Linked DNA regions of Homo sapiens: regions 1 and 2 are each linked to region 3. Evidence: promoter capture Hi-C in human tissues and cell types (Jung and others, 2019). All regions are on one chromosome and are shown on one strand. Each heading gives the region's core, a stretch centred on a gene start or on the middle of the fragment in contact. The rest is flanking DNA. Distances are from core to core; before and after follow the strand shown. Region 1 has its middle 14 kb from the start of FBXL14. Region 2 holds the start of ADIPOR2 (adiponectin receptor 2). Region 3 holds the start of KDM5A (lysine demethylase 5A).

Evidence for each region. The method cuts DNA at HindIII sites, captures the fragments that hold promoters and counts their contacts. A contact is called where the count stands out against the background at its distance.
Region 1: a contact is called between a fragment that was not itself captured here and the fragment with the promoter of KDM5A in region 3, in 1 of the 25 tissues and cell types used here (dorsolateral prefrontal cortex).
Region 2: the fragment with the promoter of ADIPOR2 here is called in contact with the fragment with the promoter of KDM5A in region 3 in 1 of the 25 tissues and cell types used here (hippocampus).

What each region holds. Positions count from the first base shown.
Region 1 is chr12:1,606,988-1,610,252 of GRCh38, reverse strand. No RefSeq gene overlaps it. Among named protein-coding and RNA genes, the nearest start is that of FBXL14, 14 kb to the right of the region's middle. The HindIII fragment of the contact is 7,541 bases long and covers 1-3,265 here.
Region 2 is chr12:1,689,023-1,692,324 of GRCh38, reverse strand. ADIPOR2 (adiponectin receptor 2) reads right to left here and starts at 1,255. Exons shown (of 8, transcript NM_024551.3): 1 at 1,134-1,255. RefSeq lists silencers at 953-1,042, 1,063-1,362 and enhancers at 861-1,439, 1,523-1,572, 1,593-1,752. The HindIII fragment of the contact is 10,259 bases long and covers 78-3,302 here.
Region 3 is chr12:388,070-391,537 of GRCh38, reverse strand. It overlaps KDM5A (lysine demethylase 5A), which reads left to right and starts at 2,218. Exons shown (of 28, transcript NM_001042603.3): 1 at 2,218-2,611. The coding sequence starts at 2,447. It overlaps LOC105369594 (a long non-coding RNA gene), which reads left to right. Exons shown (of 4, transcript XR_007063149.1): 4 at 597-1,505. It also overlaps a transcript of CCDC77 not described here. RefSeq lists an enhancer at 1,761-2,055. The HindIII fragment of the contact is 14,723 bases long and covers 1-3,468 here.

The DNA.
Region 1 (3,265 bases), core at 472-2,971, 1.2 Mb before region 3:
GGGCAGCAGCCACTGTAGAATCGGTCCCTGTTTGGTTACCCTGTTTGAACAAACAGACCTTGAGATAATTTGTGTGCACAGAAGTAAACTTTTCTTGACCCATTAAACCCCTTCTGACTTAAAAAATAAATAAATAAAAACTTTTTAAAATTGAAACAAAACACACAGAGTTAAAACGCACAAGTCTTAAATGTACAGCTTGATGAGTTTCCACATATGCATAGACGCATGAAACTAAGACCCAGACCAAGAACCACCTAACCATGGGCAAACCAAACTGATATGCTGCAGATAAATGCAAGAGTAGAATCTAGTTGGATCTCTAATATACCTTTTAAAAGTTGTTTTAGCTGGGCAGTGAGGTCCACGCCGGAAATCCCAGCATTTTGGGAGGCTGAGGCAGGTGGATCACTTGAGACCAGGAGTTAGAGACCAGCCTGGGCAATATAGGGACACCCTGTCTCTACAAAAAATTTTAAAATTAGCTGGGTGTGGTGGCGCATGCCTGTAGTCCCAGCTGCTTGGTAGGCTGGGGCAGGAGAATTGCTTGAGACCAGCAGTTCAAGGCTGCAGTGAGCCATGATTACACCACTGCACTCCAGCCTGAGCAACAGAGTGAGACCCTGTCTCAAAAAACAAAACAAAACAAAACAAAACAAAACAAAAAGAAAAAGAAATGAAAATATAAAAGTTGTTTTATTGTTGTTGTTTATTCTGATATTTAGAGACAGTTTACTCCTTCTGGGGCTTTGTGGGTGGGAAGTCAACTAACAAGGATCTAGGAAACACTAGGAAATATTCTCCCAGCAGGCACACACACACTCATTCAGGATAGTATTTTCCACTTGTTGGCCGGGCGCAGTGTCTCACACCTGTAATCCCAGCACTTTGGGAGGACGAGGCGGGTGGCTCACTTGAGGTCAGGAGTTCGAGACCAGCCTGACCAACATGGAGAAACCCCGTCTCTACTAAAAATGCAAAATTAGCCAGGCGTGGTGGCTGGCTGTAGTGGAACTTCTCGGGAGGCTGAGGTGGGAGGATCACCCCAGGAGCCCAGGAGCCCAGGATCCCAGGAGGTTGAGGCTGCAGTGAGCCATGATTATGCCATTGCACTTCAGCCTAGGCAACAGAGTGAGACCCTGTCTCAAAAAGAAAAAAAAAAGAATTTTCTACTTGTTTAGGGATCTCTCAGGATCCCTAACATGTAAGAAATATTTAGGAAACCAGGCTCTGACTTACTGCCACCACGTATTTTGCATCCCTAATATTTAGTAACAGGGCGTGAAGCAGTTGACTTTTATATGTAATCTGGGCGCTTCCTCTTACATAACACCAGAAACTTCTCGTTCTCTCCAACTTTTTTTTCCGTTTGTAAGACATTTCTTTCCCATGGTAGGACAGTGACAGTTGACAATGCTTTTTTTCCAGATCTTCCATTCTTCTTTTTCTAGCTTTGTCTTAGAATTAAAATGAACAGTTTCAAAAATAAACTTGATTTTCTTTAAAAGAAAGAAAACAAAACAAACAAAAACCCTTAGTTTGGAACACAACCCATGGTTGGAAGTGAACCACCTGCTCTCTCCCACAGCCATGGATAATTCAGTGTTACCCATGGGATTATGCTGGCCAAGGATTTCAAAATGCTCATATTTCAAGCACTTACTATCTTATACTATATAACACTGAAAAATACTAGTTAGCATATTAATTCATGTAGTAGCCCCAACTTTCTGTCAGTTTGTGACATCTTACAGGGTGTTTTTAATAAGCAATAGGTTTACAATGAAAGTTGTGATGGTCAGGATGTTAATATAGCATTAAGGAAGCAAATGTGTATTAAACTTTATTAGCAGCTCCTGGGCATTTCCTGTAGTGAAGCTTTACAGACTAAGACACATTTCTGATGTAATCACAAGGCAAGCTGATTCAATTTTGGCTCTGCCAGCGGTGACAATTTCTTAGTATACTATTGTTTAAAGTATGCCCTACTTTTTAAAGTTTATAGATATAAAAGCAGGAAAATGGCTGAAAGAGGGATCCCAAAGATTGTGTTTTCCATTTTCCCATAGCACTTCAGCAGCCATTGACATGCCTGAGGACATCCATCATCACTCCATCTGAAATTTCTCCTTTTCCTCCCTTTATTGCCGGAAGATCACTGAGCAACCCTAATCACACAGCAGTCTAAGTGATCAAACTTTTATGTACTGCAGCGAATTTCTTACCATTCCAATTGCTCACAAATTTATTGAAATATCAAGTAAAAAGGCAACAATAGGCCAGGTGCAGTGGCTCCTACCTGTAATCCCAGCACTTTGGGAGGCCGAGACGGGTGGATCACCTGAACTCAGGAGTTCAAGACCAGCCTGGCCAACATGGTGAAACCCCGTCTCTACTAAAAATACAAAAAAAAAAAAATTAGCTGAGCGTGGTGGTACATGCCTGTAGTCCCAGCTATTCGGGAGGCTGAGGCAGGAGAATCCCTTGAACCCGGGAGGCGGAGGTTGCAGTGAGCCGAGATCGCATCACTGCACTCCAGCCTGGGTGACAAGAGCGAGACTCCGTCTCAAAATAAATAAAGGCAACAATAGCAGATGACTGCAATCCTGAGTGTGCGCCTGGGTGAGGAGACTCAAAGACGCTCGGCATGTCGGAGGAGAGATGCGTTCAACCTGAATTGTTCCCGTGACCCTGAGAAAGTGACTTCTCATTCTCTGCTTTATTTTCATTTGTAAACAAATAAAAAGCAAGCAAACAAAAAGCAACCATTGTCATTAAATGTCTACACAGTGCTTTTGTTAAATATTTACACCTGCTTTGAGTGTCATCTGGTCACTAAGATTTGCTATTATGTGACAACTCTCATTTAGGTTCCCTGAACCAGTTAAATTAAGGAAATTAAGGAATTCTTTTTTTTTTCTTTCTTTCTTTTTTTTTCTGAGACAGAGTCTTGCTCTGTCACCCAGGCTGGAGTGCAGTTGCGTGATCTCAGTTCACTGCAACCTCCGCCTCCCCAGTTCAAGCAATTCTGCCTCAGCCTCCTGAGTAGCTAGGATTACAGGTGTGCTCCACCAGACCCAGCTAATTTTTGTATTTTTAGTAGAGACAGGGTTTCACCATGTTGGCCAGGCTGATCCCGAACTCCTGACCTCGTAATCCACCTGCCTTGGCCTCCCAAAGTGTTGGGATTACAGGCCTGAGCCACTGCACCTGGCCCATTAAAGAATTCTTGATGGTTACAACAGTAGCCACTGATTTCTTATGT
Region 2 (3,302 bases), core at 6-2,505, 1.3 Mb before region 3:
AAGGAGACATAAGGGTGGCCTTTGATAAGAGGTCACTTCAAACTTTCAGAACTGACAAGACGTATAGCCTCCCCCCAAAAAATAATGCTATGGGTAGATGGATGCTTTTTTCTGAAGGAATTTTTAGCATTTCATTTGGAAAAGTTCTGTGATCAAATAATGCTAAATGTTATGACAGCTTTCTTGGCGTTTAAAGGGATTCTCTGGGTGAGGGGAAGGGGTGATAAAAAAAAAAAAAGTCTGCTTTTGGAACAGAAATGGGGGACAATAACCAAGGCTCAGAAACCCAGAGTCAAAAAATTAAAAGAACATCTTATTTTAAAAAAAAAGTCAACAACCTGCAATGAAGTCACCGTACCCCCATAAAATCCCAACTGTGCATTTAAATCTTTCTACCAAAATTCACTTTTGGACCATCTTATGAAGTTGTCAAAATTTCAGAGGCAAACGCTTAAATCAAGATCAAAAGCCAGGAGGAAAAAAGAGCTAACAGTTTCCAACCCAAACTCTCTCCGAGCCCCCTAAAAACTGATTTATAACCCTGTCATCGGTAATTTTAGAAGAAGCGAACACTGACGGACGGGGGCTTGGGAAAACAGGACTCCAGGTACCAAGCAGGCTGCCTGACGCGCCACCTGAAAAAGGTGAGGGAACTCTTCCCCACCCCAGTCACTGTGAAAGTAGCGCTGAGAGAGCCCATCCCAAGCCTCCACCAAACAAATTCCTAGAAGTGATAAAAACAGACAAGAGACGAAGAGGGGCGGGCAGATCCTCTCCGCGGGCAGGGAGCTGGAGCAACTGCACCCGAAGGTGAGCAGAGGGCAGCAGGCTCCGACCCTCCGCCGCGAAAGGCGAGGCGAGGGGAACAGCGGGCGCCGGACTCCTCCGACAGCGGTCGCAAGGAGGGCGGCTCCAGGTCCCCACACGGCCGACCCTCAGGCCAAGGCGCGCCGGGCGGCAGGTCAGAGTTAGGAATCAAGTTGCGGGCCGGGCCGAGAGCGCGCTCTCCCGCCCGCGCCAGGGACATTCGCCCCTCAGCTCTCACCTCCCCCCGACCCCAAGCTCTCCCTCTGCGCCCAGGAAACGGCGCCCACACTCCAGAGACCCTCACCCGGAGCCCGTCGCCGCCTCACCGCGTGTCTCGGACTTCTTGGGAGCCACCGCTGAGGGGAGGGGGGAGGAGGGGGGAACGGAGGAGGGAGGGGGCCAAGCCCGGTGTAGCCGCCGCCGCTGCCGCCGCCGCGATGCCGCTTCTGGAATCGCGCTCTCGCCGCCGCGACAGCGACCGCCGCCGCCGCGTCTCCCCGCCCCCACGACCGCACGTCGCCGTGACGCGCATCGCACGAGGCGGTTCGAGCCAATAAGACCACACGCCGTGCGCAGCCGCGCTGTCCTAAACCGGAAGCCGCCCCTCTGACCGCTCTAAAACCTGGGTGCATCGTGGGAGCTGTGGTTCGGCCAGGAACTTAGCGAAAACTATACTGGGTGTTGAGGGCCGGAGGAGCGTGCGCTCCTTAGGCGCTCACACAACTCCTCGGAGTTTTTTCTCCCACCGAAAAAGGAAGCAATTTGGAGCTGAGGAGGAGGGGGCCGCCCCGGCTCGCGGATGCTTTTCGCAGTCTCTATGGATACTGGCTACACACTTTGGGCAAGAGCCAGAATTTGAGGATTTAGGCTGGATCGTGTGTCTCTGCCAAGGGCTGATAGGATGCTGAGCGTCGTCTGTGAAGACTGCGGAAAGAAATCCAAAAGCATTAGCCCAGTTTTGCCCAGAGCAATAGTGTTTGCCTTTTATTACCTTATTAAAGATTATGATTTATGCTCTACCACTTCTATTTTTTTTAAAACCCAGTCACTCTTAAAATACATATAATTCAGAGCGATTTTTAAAATGATGTTAATGTAATGGTATATCAGAACCTACTTAAGCACTAAATACCTGCGTCCATTTACCCAGAATGAGTAAGTAATTTTCCACAAGTCATCTTTACGTTGAGTTCTAACTTCTTAGAAGCCAAGAACAGATTTGGTTACGTACTTATTCTATAAGAAAAGTGAATATAAGAGTTAGTCTGCGTAGAAAAATAGTTCTTTACATTCAGTAGGAGGGGGAATTTATCACATTCTTAAGGCGTAAATGCCTTAACTATCAAAATTCTTGTTATTGACTAAAGGAAATCCATACGATTTAGGGAAAGTCTGTGCCCACGGCTTACTGTCCTTACCTTTGGACCACAGCAAGAGATAACAAAGGGTGCAGGGAAAAGCTGACAGGTCTTGAGGGAGCTGGAGTCGGATATATGACGAAAAAAACAAAAATACAGAAGTCTTCATTATGGAAATGTAAGTTTTAAAAAGTAAAGCTACTAAAATCACAAAGAACATGATTAAGATGGCAATAATACAGAACTAAGGCCCACTCATTTAAGCTTGAAAGAGATAAAACTAGTAGAAATTAAAATTAGGAAATAAATGTTAAAGGAACTAATTTCCTCCAAGGAGTGGTTTACATTGAAAATATAATTTTTTTAAGTTTACATAATTTGTGAAAGACATAATAATAATGACTTCTATGTTCCCAGGTAAAGATGTAAAGCTTTTGAGGTTGAAATCAAGGAAGACAATTGTACACCTCCTCAGCACATCAGAAACAATACAGGCATTTCTGGATTGTGAATTTGACCCGTTATACCAACTCACATAGAACAGAGATAAGAAGTATAAGATTCTTAGGCTTAATAAAGAGTCTACTAAAGGTGACAGAACTAGAGCGAAAAAGATAATTTTCTTAAAAAGAGATTCTTCAAAGATCTCCAATCTTTCCTGCATCCCTTTCTCTTAAAGACTGGTTTCCAGGCCAAGCGTGGTGGCTCACACCTGTAATCCTAGCACTTTGGGAGGCCGAGATGGGCAGATCACTTGAGGTCAGGAGTTCAAAACCAGCCTGGCCAACATGGCGAAACCCCGTCTCTACAAAAATACAAAAAATTAGCCAAGCATGGTCGCGCGTGCCTGTAATCCCAGGTACTCTGGAGGCTGAGGCAGGAGAATCACTTGAACCTGAGAGGCAGAGGTTGCAGTGAGCTGAGACCGTGCCACTGCACTCCAGCCTGTGTGACAGAGCAAGACTCTGTCTCAAAAAAAAAAAAAAAAAAGATTCTGGTTTGACAAAACGAAGGGCTTTAAGAAGCTACCTCTGGAACAGTTCACCGTGTGCTGAACCAGATGAAAGACAGACTTACCATTTCCCTAAAGTTTCACATCTTGTTCTCGGTTACCTTGATCCCATTCACATATCACTA
Region 3 (3,468 bases), core at 969-3,468:
TTATTTCTTTTTCCGAATAATATAGTTTTCCAGATTTAAGTGGTAAAAATCAAAGACTTTGTTGTAAATTTTTTTTTTTTTGGAGACAGAGTCTCACTCTTCTTGCCTAGGCTGGAGTACAGTGGCACGATCTCGGCTTACTACAACTTCCACCTCCTGGGTTCAAGCAATTCTCCTGCCTCAGCCTCCTGGATAGCTGGGATTACAGGCGCCTGCCACCACGCCTGGGCTAATTGTTGTACATTTTTAATAGAGACAGGATTTCACCATGTTGGCCAGGCTGGTCTCAAACTCCTGACCTCAGGTGATCTGCCCGCCTTGGCCTCAAAAAGTGCTGGGATTACAGGCGTGAGCCACTGCACCTGGACATAAATCATTATAATAATTGTATGGAATTATTATGAATCACAGCGTCCTGTGTCTACACCCCTTTGTAATGTGACATTGTCACTCTTCTCATAAAAAATTGGAATTTTCCCACTTCTTGAATCTGGGATGGTCTTATGACTTGCTTTGACCAACAGAATATGATGGAGTGATCTTGTACATTTTGGAGTCTAGGCTTTAGGTCTTTGCTTCCACTCTCATCTTCTTAGAATGCTAAGACCACCATGCAGTGGAAAAGCTCCATCTACCAGAAGATGAGAAGCCATGTGGAGAACTAAGACTTCCCAGCCAATAGCCAGCACCAACTGCCAGACACGTAAGTGAGGCCATCTTGAACCCTCCAACCCTAGATGTATTCACGGTTCTCCAGAGAAACAGAACCAATAAGATGTGTGTGTGTGTGTGTGTGTGTGTTTATAAAGATATTTATTTTAAGGACTTGACTCACTTGATTATAGAGCTTCCAAGTCCAAAATCTGCAGGGTGGGTTGGCAGGCTGGAGGCCAGGGAAAAGGTGATGCTACAGTTCAAGTCTGAGAGCCATCTACTGGCAAAATTCCTTCTTGCTCATGGAAGGTCAGTCTTTTGTTCTATTCAGGCCTTCAGTTGATTGGATAAGGCCTACTCACATTATGGAGGGCAATCTGCGTTATTCAAAGTCCCCTGATTTGTTACTCAGAGGTGAGAAAAATCATGGTGTACTAAAGTCACCACAAAAACTTCTGTAGATCATATGGAGAAGCAGGAGAGATGAAGCTGGAGAGCAAAGCAGCAAATCAGCAATTAAAAAAGATGTTTGGAGTTGTTGAGTTTGGAGATGAAAAGTGACAAGATGAATTCTGGATTTTAGACAAAGCAATCCAACGTGTGGATGGAGAGGGATTTGAGAGGAGAAATCAGCTGTTGTCAGTAAGAGTATTTAAATTAGGATACTGGTAACGGGGATGGAGAGACACACGATTATACATGGGAAGTGAGAGCAGAAAGAATTAGGATTATTTCTTGATTTTTTTTTTTTTTTTTTTTTTTTGCTCAGGCAACTGAATAGATGAAGTCATTAATGGAAACCAGGAACACTGAAGAAACAGTGAACAATTAAAGTACTTTGAGTTATCAAAGTGAGATGTCCTGCAGGTAGCTAGACGATACTGGCTGGTAATTCAGGAGAGCTGCTGCGTCCTGTGTAAAAGGAAAAGCAATTCATGGATGGTGGCTAAAGCCAGCTGGCAGGATTTAGGGGATGGGTTAGACCTGCACTTGTTTTGATGGAGAAGAGGCGGGTATAAAGTGGCAGAGTGAGATTACTGTAAAATATCTGCATTCAAAGGGCTAAAAAAAGAGAAATGCTGGAAAGGCTACTTGCTATAAACGCAGCAGGGTAGGTTAAAACAAATTACGAAGCACGGGCGGTGAGGCGCGGTGCTTAAGATTAAGCCCGGCGTGTTTTCGAGTGCACTGATACACAAAAGGGAAAGGGACCCTCCTCACCGGAAGCACAACCTCTGCCCTCTGGGGCATTACACATTCCTCCGCGCCGGAAGAAAGCGTCACGTCGCGTCGCGCCTCGCCCCGCCTCGTTGCGCCTCGCCCCGCCTCGCCCCGTCGGCTTCCCTCAATCCGTACCTCTAGTAAAGAAGAGCTTGTGCCCCTCCCCGACCCCTTACCAAGGGCGAGCTGCGTGGAGTCGTTGGACTGGGCAGAACTTTGGCGGGCAAGGAGACAAACAGCCACACTGTGCTGCCGGGGAAGAGAAGAAGAAGGAAAGGCCAGACACACAGGCGTCGTGCAGCTGCGGAAGGATTCCGTTTCCTGCAGGGGGCGGAGGGATTTGACAGCACGGTAACTTCCGGAAAAGTCCTGAACCTCAGTGGAAAAGCCTTGCAAGAAACAATAACAAACGGGAGGAGGAAGCGATTCTGGGGTTTCTGTGTTGAACGGTTCTTGTCCGCGAAGATGCGCTTCGGCCTCTGTCAGGGGACTTGAACGGGCTTAGTGGGCTTCAGCCAGCTTTTCTCCACCGGTTCCCCACGGGGACCCCCCCCCCCCCCCGGCCGTTGCAATGGCGGGCGTGGGGCCGGGGGGCTACGCGGCGGAGTTCGTGCCACCGCCAGAGTGCCCCGTCTTTGAGCCGAGTTGGGAGGAGTTCACAGATCCGCTCAGCTTTATCGGCCGCATCCGGCCTTTGGCGGAGAAAACCGGCATCTGCAAAATTCGGCCGCCCAAGGTACCTCAGTCTGTGAAGAGAGAGGGGGAGAAGGAAGAATGGGGGAGTCCGTACACTGGGTTTAGCTTTACTTTTCTGATCCTTGTCTCGTTTCATATGTACTCTCTTTTGAGACAACTGGAGCCTGTTTCTGGATGTTTTTGCCTCGGTTTCTTTTGTGGTCTTATGTAGACACGTCTGAAAGCGAGAAAGTGGTGTCTCTTGGGCCTCTTCCGCCTAGAACTTGGGAACTGATACTTTTCTCTCAGCCGTGGGCCTAAAGCCTTTCGTTAGCCGATATGGTGTTTAAAGTACAGTATTATGACGTGACGTATTCTTCCCTCACGTATCCTCATTATGGTTTGATAGTCGGCTATCTCTTTATTCAAGACCTGGTTGGATCAAATATTTGCAGGCCTCATCTCAGGGCTAGGGTTTCTGAAAAGGTTATCTGAGCTCTAGTCTCACCGGATGGTATTACTAGACAAGAACTCCAGACTAATTATTGCCGCAGTGAAAAAGTCTTAGCGGGGAAAGAGAAGGAGCAGCAATAATTCTAAAATTTAGAGGTTTAGGAAAAATTGGTTTATAGTGGAGGTGGAAGGAAATGTTGAAATCTCTTGACGTAGGGAACTCAAGATCAACGATTTTAGAATCACAGTTATTGCAGATAACTAGGTTTGCCTATAAGGTTAATTATAATCTCACCTTTGAGGTAAGGAAAACAGATACTATCCCTTGTGTGGAGGGGATTAATGCCCCAAGAGGTTGAGTGATTACTCAAGGTCAAAGGTGTTTTTCTTTACTCATTAGACCAGTGCTTTTTAAATGATGTTGCTGGACCACTTGCACCAGGGTCAACTGGATGCTTGTTTAAA